2 separate regions of the Homo sapiens genome follow, and region 2 is linked to region 1. The links are contacts of gene promoters, found by promoter capture Hi-C in human tissues and cell types (Jung and others, 2019). All regions are on one chromosome and are shown on one strand. Each heading gives the region's core, a stretch centred on a gene start or on the middle of the fragment in contact. The rest is flanking DNA. Distances are from core to core; before and after follow the strand shown.

Evidence for each region. The method cuts DNA at HindIII sites, captures the fragments that hold promoters and counts their contacts. A contact is called where the count stands out against the background at its distance.
Region 2: a contact is called between a fragment that was not itself captured here and the fragment with the promoter of DOC2A in region 1, in 1 of the 25 tissues and cell types used here (dorsolateral prefrontal cortex).

Annotation. Positions count from the first base shown.
Region 1 is chr16:30,008,684-30,012,827 of GRCh38, reverse strand. It overlaps DOC2A (double C2 domain alpha), which reads left to right and starts at 1,801. Exons shown (of 11, transcript NM_003586.3): 1 at 1,801-1,925; 2 at 2,593-2,867; 3 at 3,271-3,350; 4 at 3,552-3,626; 5 at 3,723-3,832. The coding sequence starts at 2,606. RefSeq lists a silencer at 1,835-1,894. The HindIII fragment of the contact is 30,604 bases long and covers 1-1,961 here.
Region 2 is chr16:29,621,564-29,625,707 of GRCh38, reverse strand. It overlaps the pseudogene CA5AP1. Among named protein-coding and RNA genes, the nearest start is that of MIR3680-2, 24 kb to the right of the region's middle. The HindIII fragment of the contact is 6,603 bases long and covers 1-4,144 here.

The sequences.
Region 1 (4,144 bases), core at 552-3,051:
GCCAGGCTAGTCTCAAACTCCTGACCTCAGGTGATCCACCCACCTCGGCCTCCCAAAGCGCTGGGATTACAGGCGTGAGCCACTGCGCCCCGCCCCCTCAGTGTTGTTGACTTTACATTTCTCTTACTTTTTTTTTTTTTTTTTTTTAAGAGACTGTGTCTCACTGTGTTGCCCAGGCTGGCTTCACTCAAGCGATCCTCTCGCCGCAGTCCCTGGAGTAGCTAGGATTACAGGCACCCGCCACCACTCTCGGCCCCATTTCTCTTATTTAAAAAAAAAAAAATTGCCGTGAAATACGCATATCGAAATGTACCATCTTCACCATTTTTAAGGGTAAGATTAGGTGGTGTTAGGTATGTTCAGTTGTCGTGCAACCAGATTGCTGTTTTAAATAACAGCACTTAGAGATGCCGACTTCGTGCCAGGCCCAGTTTGGGACATTAGGGACTCCCAGATGAATCAGCCGCTCCAGTGGAACTCCCTGCTGGTGGGGGAGGCACTGGCGAAGCGGTGCTGAGCCGAGTCCTGACGGCGCTGGAGCTGAGGGGCAGTGCGGGATGCCCCAGGAAGGCTCCTAGGAAGAGGGGACCCACGGTGACTTCCTAAGGAAGCGCGGTTCCCAGGTAGAGGAGCGCATGTGAGCCAAGATCCCTAGGCCTGAGCCGTCTAGGTGTGTCCCAGGAACTGCAGGAAACGGTTGGGTGAGTCAGTGGTGGGCAGCGAGGGTGATAAGCCCCTTCGTGTCTTCGGGATGGTAAGTTTGGGGCACAGGTGAGTGAAGACCGAAGGCCAGGGGTGGACTGACACTCCGTGGCAGGCGCAGGGCCGGGCAGGGGGGCGGCTTGGGGGTGGCAAGGTTTGGGTGAGAAATGGCAGCCCATGGGGAACTACCGCAGGGCTCTGAGACCTTCAGAGCCAAGCCCCGACGCCCCTTCCCACCTGCGGGGCAGAACTGGGGATGGCAGGGGGGAGGGTGGTTCCCAAAGGAGATACCATCCCTGGTAAGGGGACATGGGCCCCTGGGAGTTGGGTTGGGCCACAAGGAGAGAGGCCTGAACGGCCAAAGGGAGGGGGCGTGGGGGAAGCCGCAGCATCAGACCTCTGCCTCCTCCCTCAGATCGTGAGGCTCCCCAGCCTGGCTCGGGAGACCCCGAGATCCCCGGCCGGTGACAGCAGGCGACCCCCTGCTCCTGTCAACCTGTGGGTCCCTACGGACGTGGGGAAGGGAGGAGGGAGGCCCCAGCTCCCTGCGGGGGAGGGGCGTGAAGACGCGCGGGGGTGGGGGGAGATGAGCCGGCGTCGCCATGACAACGAGGCCGGTGGTCCGGCCTTGGGGACCCGGGAGGGAGGGAGGCGCCGTGGCCGCGCGCGCGGGCGGGGGCGGGGGGCCAGGTCTCCCAGGAGTAGTTGGGGAACACCCGGCGATTCTGGCGGCTGCTTCCTGGTGGCGCAGGGAGCCCGCGTGTTTGCGAGTGCGTGTGTGTGCGAAGTTCTCCGGGTAAGTGTGCCAGCGCGCGCCTGGGTGTGTGCAAGGGTGTGAGCGTGCACACGTGGGCACGGGCGTGTGCGCGCGGGGGTGCCCGGTTGGATGTGTGCACACGAGTGTGTGCCGGTCCGCGTGCCCCTGCGTGAGTGTGCGCGCGCGAGCACACGTGTGTGTGCGCGCTCGCGTGCGCTCCCGAGCGGGCCCCGGGTGGGAGTCCGAGATCCCGCCCCCTCCCCAGCCCCAGCGCCCCTCCCCGTCCCCCGCCGCCGCGCCGGCTGCATCCTCGCCTCCACCTCGCTCACCCCCTCCTCCCCGCACTTTCTCGGCGCTCCCTCCCTCTCGGCTCGCACAGCTCGACTCCGCGCTCTCCTCGCCGGCCGCCGCCGCCCAGCCTGCGCCCGCCGTCCCCCCAGTGCCTGGGCACCTGTTGGAGGCAGAGGCAGGTGCAGGGGGCTGGGCAGGCCGGGGGCGTGAGGGTGCGGGGAAGCGTGCCAGCCTGTGTGCGCTACGGGGGTGTTCGGCTCTCCTGCGGCTGCAATTTCTGGCTCCCCTGAGGAGCCAGAGGTGGCATCTGAGGCTGGGGTCTCCACCGTGGGCTGTGGTGAGCGAGCGGGGGAACCAGGCAGGCAGACAGGTCCTGGGGCTGAATGAGGGGACAGTGGGCAGTTGGAGCCTAGAGGGGTGGGTGACACCCTGACTAGACCAGCGCCTGGTGCAGAGGAGGACAGAGCCTCCGAGAAACAGAGGCGGGGCCCTGCAGGGCCCCTTGGGGGACAGGCAGGCTCAGGAGCAGAGGGGAGCCCCGGAGGAGAGGAAGGAGCTGGCAAGATGATACAGGGACAACCTAGAAGTGGGTGGGTGAGGACGGGGTGGTGCAACCTCGACTTCTGCAAGGAGTGGGTTGGCAGCCCAGCCCCTGTGGAGTCAGCTTGGGGTCTGCAGGGCCCAGGCCTCCCACCTGCCACCGGCTGGCACACACCACCCTCTCCCTCGACACCTAGGAAGGGAGGCCAGTGAGGGCCCCACAGACCGAGGAGGCCGTCGCCTGGCCCTCAGCCAGGATGGCTAGGTATGATGGGCTCACTGGCTCACACGCCCTCTCCTAGCCAGGGGTGCTGCATGAGGGGCCGCAGGGGCGATCGCATGACCATCAACATCCAGGAGCACATGGCCATCAACGTGTGCCCCGGGCCCATCCGGCCCATCCGCCAGATCTCTGACTACTTCCCCCGGGGACCAGGACCTGAAGGGGGCGGCGGGGGCGGCGGGGAGGCCCCCGCCCATCTGGTCCCCCTGGCTCTGGCCCCCCCTGCAGCCCTCCTTGGGGCCACCACGCCTGAGGATGGTGCGGAGGTGGACAGCTATGACTCGGATGATGCCAGTGAGTCTGGGGGCTTGGAGGCCCCATGTGCTGGTGGGGGTCTCCAGGCTTGCCGTGGTGGGGGGAGAGGGGGATGGGCCCTGCTGGCTGTGCATGTAGGTAGGGGAGGAGGGCAGTGGGGGGGTGGCAGGGACGGCCACCACAGCTGCAGTCAGCGTGGAGATTACAGCTTCAGCAAGGCTCAATATTCAGTATTTCTGCTGAGACACTCCACCACCCACACAGCCCCAGTTGCGGCCGAGCCAGGGACCCAGACGCACACACGCATGGGCCCACTCAGCCTCTTGCACTCACACTCGCGGGCTGGCAAGAGAGAGAGACACACAGAGCCAGTGCCCACCTGCTGGCCTCTCGCACACACCTGTCTCCATACCGACCCATGCTGCCTTTCCTCTCTCTCCAGCCGCCCTAGGCACGCTGGAGTTTGACCTTCTCTACGACCGGGCCTCCTGCACTCTGCACTGTAGCATCCTCAGGGCCAAGGTGGGCACTCCCTGCCACCCAAGCCCGGGCCCGGTTTGCGTGCAGCCCCCAGAGGGGGCCCATTCCTCCTTCCCTTCCCAGGCCTGCTCCTTCGTCCTGCCCTTGCCCCCTCCTTCTGGGCTCCTCCAGGGTCCAGCTCTACAAGAGGGATGGAGAGAGGTGCCGGGAGCCTCTAGCCCTCTCCCCTGCCCTCCTCTCCAGGGCCTCAAGCCCATGGATTTCAATGGCCTCGCCGACCCCTACGTCAAGCTGCACTTGCTGCCTGGAGCCTGTAAGGTAACAGCCTCCTCTCGCCCCGCCCGGCCCAGCCCATGACTCCAGCCTGTGGGGCTGGAGGACAGGTATTGAGAACCTTTCATCCCCACATCCCAGGCCAATAAGCTAAAAACGAAGACTCAGAGGAACACACTGAATCCCGTGTGGAATGAGGACCTGACTTACAGCGGGATCACAGATGACGACATCACGCACAAGGTGCTCAGGTGAGGGCCCCCCTCCCCACCACCCAGCAGCAGCTCGGGGACAGCTGACATTGTAACCGCTGGTTGGTTGATCTATGTCCCATTAAGCCCGTACCTCTCTGATGCTCAAGAACCATCAGCGGCTCCCTAGCCCCTTTGGCAGCAGGCCAAAATTCTTCCCTGCCATTCCTGCCCCTCAATATCTCCTGCCTGCCAGGTGTGGTGGCTCACACCTGTAATCCCAGCACTTTGGGAGGCCGAGGTGGGCGGATCACTTGAGGTCAGGAGTTCAAGACCAGCCTGGCCAACTTGGTGAAACCCCCGTCTCTACTA
Region 2 (4,144 bases), core at 506-3,005, 390 kb after region 1:
GCATGAGCCACTTCGCCCAGCCTATAATGCTGTTTTTTTTTTTTAATTAACTGGATAATTATAAACGTGAACACGTGTGCACAGAACTGATGCATGTGTCTGCCGGCGTGGACACTCCTGGGCTTCCTTCTGGTAGCTCAGCCACCTCTCTTGACCCTGACCCTCACTGCTTGATGTTAGGAGACAAGCCCAAGGCATCTAGGTTGCCGGCTTCCACCTTGGAAGGCCAGGGCCCAGCAAAGTCAAGGTGATGTGATGTGGCTGAGCAGGGAGGCCATCTTCCTTGCAGACAGGGACTCTGTCACTTTGGACTGGACTCTTGTCCCACAGTGCTGGCCAGGGACAGGTGCAGAGTTGTGCTTGGTTGGCATGGGATGCTGATGAAGGCTGTGTTGCGGCCAGGCCCAACCACCATGAGCCGAGATCATGCCACGGCACTCCAGCCTGGAAGACAGAGTGAGACTCTGCCTCAAAAAAATAAAAAAAATAAAAAGTTATAAATAGAACTACCCTATGATTCAGCAATCACACACTTCTGGGTATATATCCAAAAGAGCTGGCTGGGCACAGTGGCTTATGCCTGTAATCCCAATATTTTGAGAGGCCAAGGCAGGAGGATCACTGGAGCCCAGGAGTTGGAGAACAGCTTGGGCAAGATGGCAAGACCCCTTGGCTACAAACAATTAATTTTAAACCCTGGTATGGTGTCCTAGCTACTTGGGAGACTGACGCGGGGGGATCGCTTGAGCCCAGGAATTAGAGACTGCAGTGAGCTATGATGGCATCATTGCACTCCTGCCTAGTTGACAAAGTAAGACCCTGACTCTTTTTTTTTGTTTTTTGGCTGTGAGTGTATTCAATGCAAAATAATCCTCTCTAATTTTACTGAGGTGGCTGGCCATGTCCACGACCAAATCTGCCTCTAAACTGGAATTCGGTTGCTGACCCAGCCCGAGCCTTGGCTTTCTTGTCGGCACCAGGGGCACAGCACTCCGTCTATAGGTATGTCTGTTGGCTTCCCCTCTTGTGAGTCTTGCAGGTCGCCCACCCTCCAGACCTTTAGGCCGAGGCCTGCCAGTCCCTGGACGGCTGCAGCGTAGGGTGGCAGGCACAGTTTCCAGGGACAGATGAAGGTAATCACGGAGATACTGGATACCCTGATCGGTAAGGTAGCAGTAGAAATGTCTCCAGGCAAGCCAGGCACGGTGGCTCATGCCTGTAATCCTAACATTTTGGGAGGCCGAGGTGGGCGGATCACGAGGTCAGGAGATTGAGACCATCCTGTCTAACATGGTGAAACCCCGTCTCTACTAAAAATACAAAAAATTGGCCGAGCGTGGTGGCGGGTGCCTATAGTCCCAGCTACTGGGGAGGCTGAGGCAGGAGAATGGCATGAACCCAGGAGTTCAAGCTGGTCTTGAACTCCAGGAGGCGGAGCTTGCAGTGAGCCGAGATCACACCACTGCACTCCAGCCTGGGTGACACAGCGAGACTCCGTCTCAGAAAAAAAAAAAAAAAAAAAAAGCAACAATGCAGGGACTCCTGACACATGCTCCAATGTGGATAAACCTGAAGGACATTATGCCCAGTGAAATAAGCCAGACACAAAAGACAAAAACCACAGGATCCCACCCACATCAGGTCCCCAGAGTCCTCAGATTCAGAGAGATGGAAGCAGAATGGTGGGTGCCAGGCCTGGGGGAGGAAGCTGGACATAGTGTTTAGTGGGGTCAGGACAGAATTTGAGTTTGGGATGATGGAAAAGTTCTGGAGACGGATGGTGGAGATGGTTGCACCACAATGTGACTGCATTTAACGCCATGAAACTTTACACTTAAAAATTGTTAAGATGGGCTGGGCATGGTGGCTCATGCCTCTCATCCCAGCACTGTGGGAGGCTGAGGCAGGTGAATCACCTGAGATTGGGAGTTCAAAACCAGCCTGACCAACATGAAGAAACCCCGTCTCTACTAAAAATACAAAATCAGCAGGTGTGGTGGCGGGTGCCTGTAATCCCAGCTACTCAGGAGGTTGAGGCAGGAGAATCACTTGAGCCTGGGAGGCGAAGGGTTGCAGTGAGCCAAGATCGCACCATTGCACCCCAGCCTGGGCAACAAGAGCAAAACTGCATCTCAAAAAAAAAAAAAAAGGTTAAGATGGTAAATTTTATGTTATGTATATTTTATCACAATAAAAAGTAATATTTTTTGCAGCCAAGGTATGCTAAAAGAAATGGCGTTTTTATTATTTATTAATTATTATTATTATTATTATTATTTGAGACAGAGTCTCACTCTGTTGCCCAGGCTGGAGTGCAGTGGCGTGATCTCAGCTCACTGCAACCTCTGCCTCCTGGGCTCAAGAAATTCTCTTGCCTCAGCCTCCTGAGTAGCTGGGACTACAGGCGCCCACCACCACATCTGGATAATTTTTGTATTTTTAGTAGAGACAGGGTTTCATCATGTTGACCAGGCTGGTCTCGAACTCCTGACCTCAAGTGATCCACCCGCCTCGGCCTCCCAAAGTGCTGAGATTACAGGGGTGAGCTACTGCGCCCCAAGAAATGACTTCAAAAGGAAAAATGTAAGCACCAACATAAGCTGGTGTAATGTAATGTAATTCCCACCAATGTAAGTTGGCAGGAATCCTTGCTCTGTATAGAAGGGTCACATTTTCTTATCACTGCTTCCAAGTGTGACAGCAGTGGCCTCATGGCCTTATCTCGGGGAAAGCACTTCCTTCCAAGCACCATGAAGGCCTCCCGTGCTGAGACAAGATGGAAGCTCCTAGTCCCGCCTGAGGACTGACACGGCCTTGGCTTCTCGGTCTCTCAGGACGCGCGGGCGGCCATGCGCCCCTTCGACCCCTCCGCTCTGCTGCCCACCTGCTGGGATTACTGGACCTATGTGGGCTCGCTCACCACCCCGCCGCTGACCGAGTCGGTCACCTGGATCATCCAGAAGGAGCCCGTTGAAGTGGCCCCAAGCCAAGTGAGCCGTGCCCGTAACTGGCATGATGGCGCTTCATGGAAGGCGTCTCTCTTGCTTGGCAGCGTCACTAAGATGCTGCATAAGAGCCTTGAGGAGTTATATATATTCTTTCATGCATTTGGGGTGTTCTTACACAAGAAGAAAGTTCCAATTGAAGTAGGAGCTTGTTGAGATTGGACAGCGGTTCCAGTGATCACAGCGAGCATGTTCTGAGCAATGCCCTAATCTATCACACACAGACACACAAGGCATCCATGGGAGTTGTCCCAGCGTCATGGGTCTGCATGGTTTTTGTTTTCTTCCTTTTTCTTTTCTTTCTTTTTTTTTTTTTTGAGACAGAGTCTCGCTCTGTCGCCCAGGCTGCAGTGCAGTGGCTCGATCTCAGCTCACTACTACCTCCACCTCCTGGGTTCAAGCAATTCTCCTGCCTCAGCCTCTCGAGTAGCTGGGATTACAGGCACCCATCACCACGCCTGGCTAATTTTTGTATTTTTAGTAGAGACGGGATTTCACCATGTTGGCCAAGCTGGTCTTGAACTCAGGTGATCTGCCCACCTTGGCCTCCCAAAGTGCTGGGATTCCAGGCATGAGCCACCGAGCCCGGCCTCCTTTTTCTTATCTAAATAGTTTCATTGCTTTTTTTTTTCGAAAATTAGTTAATAATCCTTGTATACATTTTTAAAAGTTATACTATTGGGCTGGGCGTCATGGCTCATGCCTATAATTTTAGCACTTTAGAAGGCTGAGACAGGCAGATCACTTGAGGCCAGGAGTTCGAGACCAGCCTGACCAACATGGTGAAACCCCGTCTCTACTAAATCTACAAAATTAGCCAGGCGTGGTGGTGCACGCCTGTAATATCAGCTACTTGGGAAGCTGGGGCAAGAGAATAACTTGAAGCCGGGAGGTGGAGGCTGCAGTGAGCCGAGATCGCACCACTGCACTCCAGCCTGGACAACAAGAGCAAAACTCCATCTCAAATAAATAAATAAATAAAAATACAAAAATTAGCCGGGCATGGTGGCGTGTGCCTGTAGTGCCAGCTACTTGGGAGGCTGAGGTAGGAGAATCACTTGAACCTGGAAGGCGGAGGTTGCAGTGAGCTGAGATGGCACCACTGCACTCCAACCTGGGCGACAGAGTGAGACTGTCTC